2 separate regions of the Homo sapiens genome follow, and region 2 is linked to region 1. The links are contacts of gene promoters, found by promoter capture Hi-C in blood cells and fetal thymus (Javierre and others, 2016). All regions are on one chromosome and are shown on one strand. Each heading gives the region's core, a stretch centred on a gene start or on the middle of the fragment in contact. The rest is flanking DNA. Distances are from core to core; before and after follow the strand shown.

Region 1 (6,340 bases), core at 1-2,500:
AAGAAAATAATGCTAATTTTCGACAAATGCAAAAATAAATGTTATTGATCTCTCTTACAAACAGAAAACAAAAAGCACTTCATCTAAATAAACCACTGTGAAAAAAAAAATGGCAACCTGACACCAAAGGGTCGTTTTTAAAACTAAAATGTTCAAATGACAGAACTCAAATAATCTGTCCACAGTAATGCTCGGACAACTCTGAGCAAAATTTCGTATTTAGTCAACTGGTAGGCTCGCTCACTAAAGTAGCAATTACACGCATGAGAAGGAAGGGAATTAAGCGGGCTGAGTGCGGGCTGGGTGATTGTGTTTTGAGACCTGCTCACAGGAAGCCACTACATCCTGCCTTTAGTCCCGCCTGTCACGCCGTCCCTCGATTCAAGTCCCGGCCGCAGCGAGGTGGGGCAAGTACAGGTGTCCCGCCGAGCTCCTCCCGGGGCGCTCACCCGCGAACAGACCGCGCGGTAGCCACTCGGGCCCCAGGGCGGCCCGTTTCCTGCAGCTCAGGGCGCCTTTTTCAACCTCTCCCAGGCTCGCCGAGCCCAGGAAACGAACAGCCCCCTCCCCTCGGGCCAGCCCCACTTCCCAGCCCGCCACCTCCTCGGGCCGCGCCTCCGTATAATTACTGCTCGGCTCCCACCGCGGGGCCACTCCCCAGCGCCCGCAGCCGCGCGAAGGCCTGAGTCTGAGGGCGGCCGGAAGCTCCTCACGCCCCCGGACCGCGCCCCCGGCCGCGCCCCGGACTCCAGCGTCCCCGCGTCCAGGCCGCTCCCCACGACCGAGCCCCTCACGCCGGCGCAGCCCGGGCTCTCCCACCCCAGGCCCATCTCCAGCTCCCACTCCCTCCGGAGAGCAGCAGCCCCGGCCCACGCCGCCCCGTCGAGGCGACGCCGCCCCCCAACACACCCCCTTCCAGCCTCAACCGCGCCCGGCCCAGGCCCCCTCCCGGGCCCGCGATCCCAGCGCAGCTCGGCGCCGCCACCGCCGCGAACCCGCCGCCCCCTCAGCCTCGCGCCCAGCGCCGCCAGGGCGTCCCCTCAGCCCAGCCCCCGCTTACAGATCTTGCCCCGCAGGCTCTGCAACACTCGAACCTCGCGACTGTCCTGGTCCCCGGCCTCGGGCTCTGCAGTCGCACTCGCCGCTGGCGCCTCGGAAGAAGCCGCCGCAGCAGCAGGCGCCGCCGCCGCCATGGTGCCGCCCGGCCCGTGCCGCAGCCCTGCCGCCTGCGTAGCCGGGCGAGGCGGAGCCCAGCAGCGGCCTAGGCCCAGGCCAGCCGCGCGCCTGGCCCCGCCCCCGGGCCTCGGCCCGACTCGCCCCGCCCCGCCCCGCCCGCCGCGGCCCCGCCCCCGCCCCCCCCGGGTCTCCATTCACCGCCTTCGCCACCCCCGAGCCGGGCTACCCTGCAGAGAACCGTACTCCCGGCTTGGGGCGCTGGCTAAGGGTAGCTCCCAGTCGTGGCTCTGAGCGGCCTTAAAATCCCCACCAGGAGAACGCCCCGGCCCTCCCGTGATCCCTAAATCCTCCCGGGAATTGGGCTCCCCCAATGAATAGACCTGCACATCTCCTAACGCTCGCGGGAAATACAGGCCCTTCCCAATCAGGGAAACTCCCTGTGGGAAGAAAATAGAATGGAATTTGGCAGGTGGGTGGACCTCAAAAGTATCTTATTCAAAAGGAGGCAAGAGATGCATTTGAGGCTCTTCCAGTATTATCCAAATACTCCCCGCCAGCAAGCCAAACTCCTCCCACACAAATACTCTTTACTAGGACCAATTCTCTGCAAAACCTGGTTCAAGAAAAGGACCAGCCACCCCCAACTCCAGCGTGAGTGCAGTGCCTGAGACCCTCTCATAGAGAAATTCTGAAGCATTTACCATCACTTTTGTATTTCAGGAACAGAAAAAGCAAAGAAGGGCTCCCCCCCGCCACCGCCACCACTACTAAAAGTTGGCTTTGTTAAAAAGTTGACTGACCCTAGGAAATGTGTAAATCTTTGACTAATTGTTAGCTTTATTTCAAGGGAACTCTTTACAGTGAGTAAACTGCATGAATAATACCCTGGTATGTGATGAGGAAGACAATTTCCTGGTGTTGAGGTTGTTAACTACGCTGCCCTAAGAAGGAAGAAACTGTGACTTAATCGGGCAGGGTAATTCTTTTCCAGGGCAACAACAGGAATAAGCCAGTCAGTCAACAAATATTTTTTGAGGGTCAGACATAGTGATGGCCTCAGACCTCAGAGACTACACAAAGGTCAAGATGAAGAGAGCTCCAGCTCATTCTGGAGGGAGACACAGAAAAGGCCAGAGGCACTGGGAGATAAGAAATAGGACGGGGAAACCTGAAAACTGAAGACAAACGCGCCGCCTGTGCAAAGGCTGGACAGCCCCAGAGAATGGTCAGAGTTTAACATGGACCTGGCCAGCGAAGCTTCCAGTTCTGCCTGTGTTGCAGGTGACTTCTATTTCCCCATGTGATCTTTACACTTGTTGGATAAAGTGAACCACTTCCTCTTATATGAATGTTTTGCTGTCATTTCAAACATAAGTCCAAAACTTAATTTCCTGTCTCCCTTTCCAAATCTGAGTTCACATCTTATACTGTTACTCAGGCCAGAAACTTTGACTTTTTCTTATCCCTTGTCCCAATGCTGTTTTCAGTTGCCACATCCTTCTGACTCTGCTGAAATCTCTTCCTTCCTTTCCATTCTCTGTCATTGCCCTTGTTAAAATTATTCTCATTTAAAGAGTATCAACGTGTTACAGGGTTTTTTCCCCCTTATTTTTAAAGGCATCCCTTTTTAGAATCAGACATAGAGCCTGTTTCTACCCCTTTTACATTTGGGCAAGTTACTCAACCTTCCTAAACCTGTTTCTGTTTCTTCTCTTTCTTTCTTTCTTTTTTTTTTTGACAGTCTTGCTCTGTTGCCTAGGCTGGAGTGCAGTGGCACGATCTCAGCTCACTGCAGCTTCAACTTCCTGGGCTCAAGCTATCCTCCCATGTCAGCCTCCTAAGTAGCTGGGACTACAGGTGCGCGCCACCATGTCCAGTTAATTTTTGTATTTTTGGTAGAGATGGGGTTTTGCCATGTTGCCCAGGCTGGTCTTGAACTTCTGGGCTCAAGTGATCCATCCGCGTCAGCCTCCCAAAGTGCTGGGTGTAAGCCACTGCGCCCGGTTGAACCTGTTTCTTTAACAGTAAAGTGGAAATGCTAAACTTTCTTCTTTGAAGGGTTGTTATTAAGATTAAATAAGTATTGGGAGCAGGGTGTTAAGTGTCTAGTGGAATGCTGAGCACGTAGTAGGATTACCTCAGTAACTGACCTCATGCTTTTGACTGGAACTCTGGTAATAAGTCCCCCATCCCTCTCATTCCTCCTACATACCACTTAAATTAACTTTCCTAACAAAAAAAATGGAGCTTATCAGTTGCCTGCTCAAGAGGACATCAGTGGCTTCATTTATCCCTTCAGCCAGCTAGCAAGAGCACACTACAGGTAATGAACAATGCTAGAAATGACTAAAGTTCAAATTCTTCAGCCAAGAGTTGGAACTGGATCCAGCGTACCTGACTCCTCTGATCTCCAGCCACACTGAGCCCCTTTTCTCACCAGCCTGATTCTGGCCTTCCTCCTGCTTGGCCAAGCGATGCCTCATCCATCTATTTCTTTCTCCAATAAACAGAGAAATTATTTGAACCTTTGGACAAATGTATCCATGGATAAAGTATCAATGTACAAATGGACAAATGTATCCAATGGACAAACGTATCCAATGGACAAAGTATCAATATCTTTGTCCATTAGTGTCAAAATCTTCTAACTTCCCTTCCTTTTCACTAGCTTAACCCCAAGTGCATAACTCTGTTACTAAATGGTCACTAAAGGTATGAAAACAATTTTACATAAAGGGACACTCCACTTTTTTGTTCTTCCAGACAGTCTTCCTTTTGCAGATTTCGGACTTATACCGTTTCACTAAAATCCCCAAACTCCATTGCTTTTTCATCCGAAGTCACTTCTAATTATTCTGTTTTTACTGATACTTGCCTACTTTGAAGAGATCTTGGGTAATGTCAATGTTTCCTTAATATAAAATATTTGGAAAATAAAGTTTTCTTTCTTTCTTTCTTTTCTTTTTTTTTTTTTTAAGATGGAGTCTTGCTCTGTTGCCCAGGCTGGAATGCAGTGGCGCGATCTCGGCTCACTGCAAGCTCCGCCTCCCGGGTTCATGCCATCCTCCTGCCTCAGCCTTCCTAGTAGCTGGGACTACAGGCGCCCGCCACTGCGCCCGGCTAATTTTTTTTGTGTTTTTAGTAGAGACGTGGTTTCACTGTGGTCTTGATCTCCTGACCTCGTGATCCACCAGCCTCAGCCTCCTAAAGTGCTGGGATTACAGGCGTGAGCCACCGCGCCCGGCCGAAAATAAAGTTTTCTAAAGACTAACAAGACATACAGTATAATTACGAGAAGGCTGTTACATCTCATTCCCCTTATTGCCCTTGCATTATGTTTTAAATTCATCTAGAGTTCCTCTCTTTTCTTCATGATGTTTAGTAACTGGAACAATATTGCATCATCACAAACTTGAACTTCACTTCCTTCCTCAAATTATTAATGAATGTGTTTAAAGGCCATCCCTTCTATCCCTACCACTCTTCGTTCTGATGAGCAACCATTCACTACTATGTCTTTTCCTATTTCTTCACCAGTTTTAAACTCATTCAGTCATTTCAACCCATACATTGGCTTGCTTTATGGCAGATGATGTAGGAAAACTACATTGTCTCTTAATAAGAAGACTATAACCTGCAGCTAGAAACTAATTCCATAACTTGTCTGTTACGGCATATTTTTGAATCAGCACCCACCAACCTATAACATGGCATTGTAAGGGGTTGTCTCCTGGCCTTGAGTTATTTATTACATTTTTTCTGGCGAGTAGGAGGAAGAGAAATGTGCTTTCTTTTTAATATTTAAATGTAGATCATTTTCATAGGGCTGGACACTCATGAGACAGAACTGTTTCTGCCGGACTGGTGGGAAAGCAAGTTCCTTTGATCATTGATGACTTGGTTTCCCCATTTGCCCCATCAGAGTACTGTTTGATGTTAAGCATTATGCACTAATTACATTATTAAAAAAAAATCTCTAAATCCAACTGGCATTTTAAAAAATAAAATTGGAGTGGTAGGAGGTGAGGAGAGACCTTAAATGTTCAGAAAACATACTTTCAACATTTCATTTGAAGACCAAATAAGGCCATTGACAAGGCTGTGTGGACAAAAATGTGGACAAATTTTTACCTTAAAACCTCCAACTCCTTCGGTACAAATATTTTCAAGGCCAGATGTGATGGCTCATGCCTGTAATCCAACAGTCGGTTGTAATACCAACTTTGACAGGAGGATCACCTGAGGCTAGGAGTTCAGGAGCAGCCTGGGCAACACCGTGAGACTCTGTCTCTACAAATATAAATAAATAAATTAGCTGGGCATGGTGGCACGTGCCTGCCTGTACTCCTAGCTAATCAGGAGGCTGAGGTGGGAGGATTGTTTGAGCTCAGGAATTTGAGGCTGCAGTGAGCTATGATCATCCCAGTGCACTCCAGCCTGGGTGACAGAGAGAGACCCTGTCTCTAAAAATAGAATTTTTTTTTTTTCAAATTCTGTCACCTCTTGCAAGAGAACTTTAAAGGCCTGAATATCTGAGCACAATACAGCTGATGCCCTTAGGTCAGTGTGACTTCAGTTATTTCTCAATCCCCCTCCTTTTGAACTATTTTGCCATATCCATTCCATCTGCAGTGCATTCTTGTCATTTTAGTGATAAAACAAAACAATGGGTGTAGGCTGGGCATGGTGACTCATGCCTATAATCCCAGAACTTTCAGAGGCCGAGTTGGGTGGATCACTTGAGCCCAGGAGTTCAAGACGAGCCTGGGCAACATAGTGAGACCCCAAATCTATTAAAAAAACAAATCAAAAAACAAAAACAACAAAAACCCCCAAAACTCAAAACCAACCAAACAAATAAAAACATACAAAACAATAAGTGTAAAAAGAAAACTGGAAATGTTGTGCAGCCATTCACTTGTTTCATTTTCTACTCTGTATTCATTCATAAACAGGACTTTATTGGGTTAGCTTCTTTGCAATTCTTTTGGCTTTTGCCTCATGGTCACAATATGGCTCCTGTACCTCCAAATATCTCAACATCCAATGGCAGGAAGGTGTATTTTTTTTTTTCTAAAATGTCTTTTTCATTACTTTCAGTGGCAAGATCATAGTTACTTTTGCACCAACCTAATATTAGGGAGGAACGCTTTTCCAGGTAGCT
Region 2 (6,733 bases), core at 3,099-5,598, 2.7 Mb after region 1:
AGAAACAGTAGGCACTCAACAATATCATGCTGGGATTACAGGCGTGAGCCATCACGCCCTGCCATATGCTTTAATTTTTTGAGGAACAATCCTGCTGTCTTCCATACTGGCTATACCATTTTATATTTGCACCAGCAATACACAAGATTTCCAGTTTCTCCACAGCCTTGCCTGGGTTTGGTTTTATAAAAAAAAAACTCTGTGGTGTTGTTTTTTGTTTTTTTTTTTTTTTTTTTTTTTTTTTTGAGACGAAGTCTCTCTCTTTTCCCCCAGTCTGGAGTGCAATGGCACGATCTGGGCTCACTGCAACCTCCGCCTCCCGGGTTCAAGCGATTCTCCTGCCTCAGCCTCCCTAGTAGCTGGGATTACAGGTGCGTACCACTATGCCCAGCTAATTTTTTGTATTTTAAGTAGATACGGGGTTTCACCATGTTGGCCAGGCTGGTCTCAAACTCCTGACCTCAGGTGATCCGCCCGCCTTGGCCTCCCAAAGTGCTGGGATTACAGGGGTGAGCCACCGCCCCTGGCCTTTTTTTTTTTTTTTTTTTTTTTTGAGACAAAGTCTTGCTCTGTCACCCAGGCTTGAGTGCAGTGGCATGATCTCGGCTCACTGCAACCTCAGTCTCCCAGGTTTAAGCGATTCTCCTGCCTCAGCTTCCCAAGTAGCTGGGATTACAGGCGCATGCCACCAGGCCTGGCTAATTTTTGTATTTTTAGTAGAGACAGGGTTTTGCCATGTTGGTCAGGCTGGTCTTCAACTCCTGACCTCAGGTGATCTGCCCGCCTCGGTCTTCCAAAGTGCTGGGATTACAGGCGTGAGCCACTGTGCCCAGCCAGTAGTATAGTTGTGGTTTTTGAATAATGGAATGTTTTAAGTTTATTTCCTTAAAAGAATGTTTATCATACACTGTTTTCTGGTAGTTTTAGAAGTAGCACAAATCCTTATGCTCTGCTACAAGGTCAGAACTGGTAAAGAAAGGTGTCTTCATCCAGGCGTGGTGGCTCATGCCTGCAATCCCAGTACTTTGGGAGGCCAAGGCGGGCAGACCACCTGAGGTCAGGAGTTAGAGACCGGCCTGGCCAACATGGCAAAACCCCATCTCCACCAAAAATACAAAAACTAGCCAGGTGTGGTGGTGCATGCCTGTAGAGCCAGCTACTTGGGAGGCTGAGGCAGGAGAATCGTTTGAACCTGGGAGGCGGAAGTTGTACTGAACCGAGGTCATACCACTATACTCCAGCCTGGGTGACAGAGCAAGATCATGTCTCAAAAAAAAAAAAAAAAAAGTCTTCTAGTTAAATTTTAGTGAGAGATTTTCACAGGAATTAAAATTCTGGGGCCTTAAAAAATCTTAAGTATGCTTTGCCATAAGCTTCAGGGACCGTGTCCATGTTACTTGGCTGTGTGTAGTCATGAATATGATCTTTTAGGATAGGACAGCAATTAAACAAACTAGATTTTTTTTTCTTTCTTTAAAAAAAAAAAAAAGAATACATTTGTTAACCTCCTGTTTGGAAATTTTACAAGGAGCTGGAGAAATTTTCACTTTTGTGTTTACTGATTGATTGTGTACTACCTTAACTGTTGGAAAAATATATTCCCTATTCAGATGAATGATAAACCAGTAAAAGCTATGAAAGGGAAAAAATGTGATGGGATTACAGCTGCCACAGAGAGGTTTTTGAAGCTTTGCACCTTGTTTGCAATTGTCATTAAGATAATGGAAATTTTGAAAGATGATCTTAATGTCTTCAATATTGTTATAATTAGGCTTTTTTCTTTGTAAATGATGTGTCTTAATTTGAAAAGTTTTCCTTTAGGAGCTTCTTTTTTTTTTTTTTTTTGAGCGGAGTCTTGCTCTGTCGCCCAGGCTGGAGTGCGGTGGTGCGATCTCGGCTCACTGGAGCATCTGCCTCCTAGGTTCAAGCAATTCTCCTGCCTCAGCCTCCTGAGTAGCTGGAATTACAGGCACCTGCCACCACGCCCAGCTATAGGAGCTTCTTATGTTATGTGAACACTATGAGTAAACAGAGTGGTATAGTTTAAACTTGCCTTCCAGTTTTTCCAAGTTCCTCTTTCTCCAATTCATTGTCTTTGCCTCGGGGTTCTTTTTCATTAATATGTATGGATGTTTACGCAGTTAGAAAAAATGTTCATAAAGATGATATTGTTGAGTGCTTACTGTTTCTGGTCCTTTGATAATGTGGTGTGCTTTTTACTTTTACACAGAAAATAACTGTGGTCAGATTGTCATGCAGTTTGCCATAGACAGTAAGGATATTGTGAAAGAAATTCTGGCTGTCTGCATAGCATGACCTTTCAAAACTGTTTTCTTTGCTGCAAGCATTTCACTTAGCCTTTTGACTGCCACATGATAGAGGAAGTAGTACATAAAGGGTAATATAAATGGCTGCCTTGTTGGTCTCAATACTGTTTTTTAAACCATGTTAAATAGTCACATGTTATTAAATAGTTTTATGTGGAGGATTACCAGTTTTATGCATAGTATAGTACATTTTAAGTATAATTTTATAAAACTTATAGTATTTAAAATTTAAATACAGGCTGGGCACGGTGGCTCATGCCTGTAATCCCAGCACTTTGGGAGGCCGAGGTGGGTGGATGACCTGAGGTGAGGAGTTCGAGACCAGCCTGGCCAACATGGTGAAACCCCATCTCTACTAAAAATCCAAAAAATTAGCTGGGCATGGTAGTGCGTGCCTGTAATCCCAGCTACTCAGGAGGCTGAGGCTTGAACCTGGGAGGCAGAGATTGCAGCGAGCCAAGATCGCGTCATTATACTCCAGCCTGGGTGACAAGAACAAGACTCCATCTTAAAAAAAAAATTAAATAGAAAATCACATTATTTTCAAAAAGGACCTAAACTTTTTATTCAAAGTTTTAAGGATTATTAGTGAATGGAGATTATTATATATAGCTCATGACTACAAATCTGTAATTTTTGTGAGGAGACATTTTTAAAGCAACCTTTGGAGCTCTCTTTCTGCTGCTTCTGAGCACCCAGGAGAGACTGTTTTCTTTAACACTGTGAAGAGAACTGGGGAAAATGAGGAAGCTCCAGCCTGATTTTATTTTACTTTTATTTTATTTTATTTGAGATGGAGTCTTGCTTCATATACTCCAGTAAATGTGGTCATGCTATATATATTCTTTTGTTTCTTTTAACATTGTTGGTAAGGTTCATTAATGGTGATGTGTGTAGCTGTATTTTATTCATTTTTCCTATTGTAAACTATTATTTATTGATCTATTAATGTACATTAGGATTATGCCTAGTTTTTTGTTACTATGAAAACTTTCACCTTAAACATTCATGTGAATGTCATATCCTCAGATAAGCATTTTCTTTTTTTTTTTTTTTTAAGTATTTATTGATCATTCTTGGGTGTTTCTCGGAGCGGGGGATTTGGCAGGGTCATAGGACAATAGTGGAGGGAAGGTCAGCAGATAAACATGTGAACAAGGGTCTCTGGTTTTCCTAGGCAGAGGGCCCTGCCTGCTTCCTTCCGCAGCGTTTGCGTCCCTGGGTACTTGAGATTAGGGAGTGGTGATGACTCTTAAGGAGCATGCTGCCTTCAAGCATCTGTTTAACAAAGCACATCTTACACCGTCCTTAATCCATTTAACCCTGAGTGGACACAGCACATGTTTCAGAGAGCATGGGGTTGGGGGTAAGGTTATAGATTAACAGCATCCCAAGGCAGAAGAATTTTTCTTAGTACAGAACAAAATGGAGTCTCCTATGTCTACTTCTTTCTACAGAGACACAGTAACAATCTGATCTCTTTCTTTTCCCCACATTTCCCCCTTTTCTATTCGACAAAACTGCCATCGTCATCATGGCCCGTTCTCAATGAGCTGTTGGGTACACCTCCCAGACAGGGCGGCGGCCTGGCAGAGGCGCCCCCCCACCTCCTGGAGGGGGCGGCTGCCGGGCGGGAGCTTCCCCCCGCCTCCCTCCGGGACAGGGCGGCTGGCCGGGCGGGGGCTGCCCCCCACCTCCCTCCCGGACGGGGCGGCTGACCGGGCGGGGGCTGCCCCCCATCTCCCTCCCGGACGGGGCGGCTGGCCGAGCGGGGGCTGCCCCCCACCTCCCGGACAGGGCGGCTGCTGGGCAGAGATGCTCTTCACTTCCCAGACGGGGCGGCTGCGGGGCGGAGGGGCTCCTCACTTCCCAGACGGGGCGGCTGCCGGGTGGAGGGGCTCCTCACTTCTCAGACGGGGTGGCCGGGCAGAGACGCTCCTCACCTCCCAGACGGGGTGGCGGCCGGGCAGAGGGGCTCCTCACATCCCAGACCATGGGTGGCCAGGGAGACGCTCCTCACTTCCCAGACGGGGTGGCGGCCGGGCAGAGGCTGCAATCTCAGCACTTTGGGAGGCCAAGGCAGGCGGCTGGGAGGTGGAGGTTATAGCGAGCTGAGATCACGCCACTGCATTCCAGCCTGGGCAAGATTGAGCACTGAGTGAGCGAGACTCCGTCTGCAATCCCAGCACCTCGGGAGGCCCATGCGGGCAGATCACTCGCGGTCAGGAGCTGGAGACCAGCCCAGCCAACAGGGCGAAACCCCGTCTCCACCAAAAAATACAAAAACCAGTCAGGCGTGGCGGCGCGCGCCTGCAATCCCAGGCACTCCTCAGGCTGAGGCAGGAGAATCAGGCAGGGAGGTTGCAGTGAGCCGAGATGGTGGTAGTACAGTCCAGCCTCCGCTCGGCATCAGAGGGAGACCGTGCAAAGTGGGAGACGGAGACGGAGACGAGAGGGAGAGGGGGAGGGGGAGGGAGAGGGAGAGCCTTTTTTTGTTTTTTGATACAGAGTCTCTCTCTGTTGCCCAGGCTGGAGTGCAGTGGCGTGATCTTAGCTCATTGCAACCTCTGCTTCCCGGGTTCAAGTGATTCCACTCAGCTTCCCAAGTAGCTGGAATTACAGGTGCATGCCACTGCACCCAGCTAATTTTTGCAGTTTTAGTAGAGATGGGGTTTCACCATGTTGGTCAGGCTGGTCTCAAACTCCTGACCTCAGGTGATCCACTTGTCTTCCAAAGTGTTGGGATTACAGGCGTGAGCCACTGTGCCTGGCCCGGATAAGCATTTTCGTAGAATATTATACCTAGTAATGCAATTTTTGATGCTAAACTCCCTTTGGAAGAGGTTAAATCAGTTTATTCTCCCATAAGCAACGATCTATGAAATGGCATCTCAGTGTGGTTTTAATTTACATTTTCTTGGTGACCAATGAGGTTGAACATTTTCCCCCATATGTTTATGGGTTATTTGGGCTTTTGGGAAACTAATTATTATCCCAATTTTTTTTGTTGGATTCATGTTCTTTATATGTTCTTTTTCACACTGTAACTTTCAAAAGTTGTTTATTTTATCATTTTTTATTTATCTGTTTGACATTCTTCATTGAATCTCTTGTTCTTTTGCATGAAGAACAGCACCTTAATTTGACCTACCAGCCTCCCCAGTACCATTCTGCCCCTGTACTCTGCTTGTTGAATTCCATAAATGCTTAAGGTTTCTCAGGTCTTTGCATATAGTCTTTCTTTCCTTGCCTGCCTAGCTAATTTCCTGTCTTACATTGTCTCTGTTAAAATATCACCCTCATGGGCCATGGTGGCTCATGCCTCTATTCCCAGCACTTTGGGAGACCAAGGCCGGGGGATGGGGATCACTTGAACTCAGGAGTTTGAGACCAGCCTGCGCAACATAGTGAGATCTTGTCTCTACAAAAAATGAAAAAATTAGCTGGGTGCCATGCACCTGTAATCCCAGCTACTTGAGAGGCTGAGATAGGAGGATCATTTGAGCTCCAGAGGTTGACGATGCAGTGAACTATGATTACACTACTGCATTCCAGCCTGGGTGGCAGAGTGGGACTCTGTCCCAAAAAAAATTAAAAAAAAAAAAATCACCCTCTTTATCTGCCTCAAATTAACATGTTTTAACCTCTACATTTGTTTATGAAAATAAAATAATTCTCATCAGAAGATTACAGAGGAAGAGGAGAGCTGTCGATATGTTCATTTCTGCCAGGGGATTTTAAAATGCATTGTGCAGAGTAATGAACAAGGATAAAAGTTGTTGAGCTTCAGCAGGAGTGAATGATTTGCTGGTGTCATAATGGTAGCCTCATTAATGATATCCCCCACTGCTCTTCATAATTCTGTTTTCTGTTTGGATGAAGGGTGATAAGGAAAACAGTGATATTGGACTGACTGAGGGAGGATATGTGGGTTTTAATCATGGCCTTGCAGCTACTTAGATTATGTGTTTGACTAAATTAGTGAAGGCTAAATTGCTGTCAACAGACCAAAAATGAATAATGGTCCAAACTTAATAGACATTTATTTCTCACTCGTGGAACAGTTAAGTTGGATGGCCCTCTTTGGTAGGTGGTTCTCTTTCAAATGGTTTCTTCCATCTTGTGACTCTGTCATCCTCTATTCCACTATGACCAGTGGAAGAGGAAAGAGAAGGTGTAAGTGTCACACCAACTTTCTTAAATTAAGCCCTGACCTGAAGTGACACAGGTCATTTCCACTGAACATTCCACTGGAAAGAACTTAGTACATGGCCACTTCTAATTGCACAGGAAGTTGGAATGTGTATCCGCTAAGTGCCCAGCCACAATCCTGTAACTGTGGAAGAAAAAAATTAGTCTCTGCCATAGTGACCTTGGTATAGTTGTCATATTTCTGTAGGTCTCAA

The links. The method cuts DNA at HindIII sites, captures the fragments that hold promoters and counts their contacts. A CHiCAGO score of 5 or more calls a contact.
Region 2: a contact is called between a fragment that was not itself captured here and the fragment with the promoter of RASA2 in region 1, in 1 of 17 cell types (neutrophils). The highest score is 6.1, in neutrophils.

Annotation. Positions count from the first base shown.
Region 1 is chr3:141,481,937-141,488,276 of GRCh38, reverse strand. RASA2 (RAS p21 protein activator 2) reads right to left here and starts at 1,250. Exons shown (of 24, transcript NM_006506.5): 1 at 1,061-1,250. The coding sequence starts at 1,193. RefSeq lists a silencer at 462-1,341. The HindIII fragment of the contact is 5,296 bases long and covers 1-2,435 here.
Region 2 is chr3:138,782,477-138,789,209 of GRCh38, reverse strand. All of the region lies in intron 2 of PIK3CB (phosphatidylinositol-4,5-bisphosphate 3-kinase catalytic subunit beta), which reads left to right. Among named protein-coding and RNA genes, the nearest start is that of PIK3CB, 49 kb to the left of the region's middle. The HindIII fragment of the contact is 5,316 bases long and covers 1,691-6,733 here.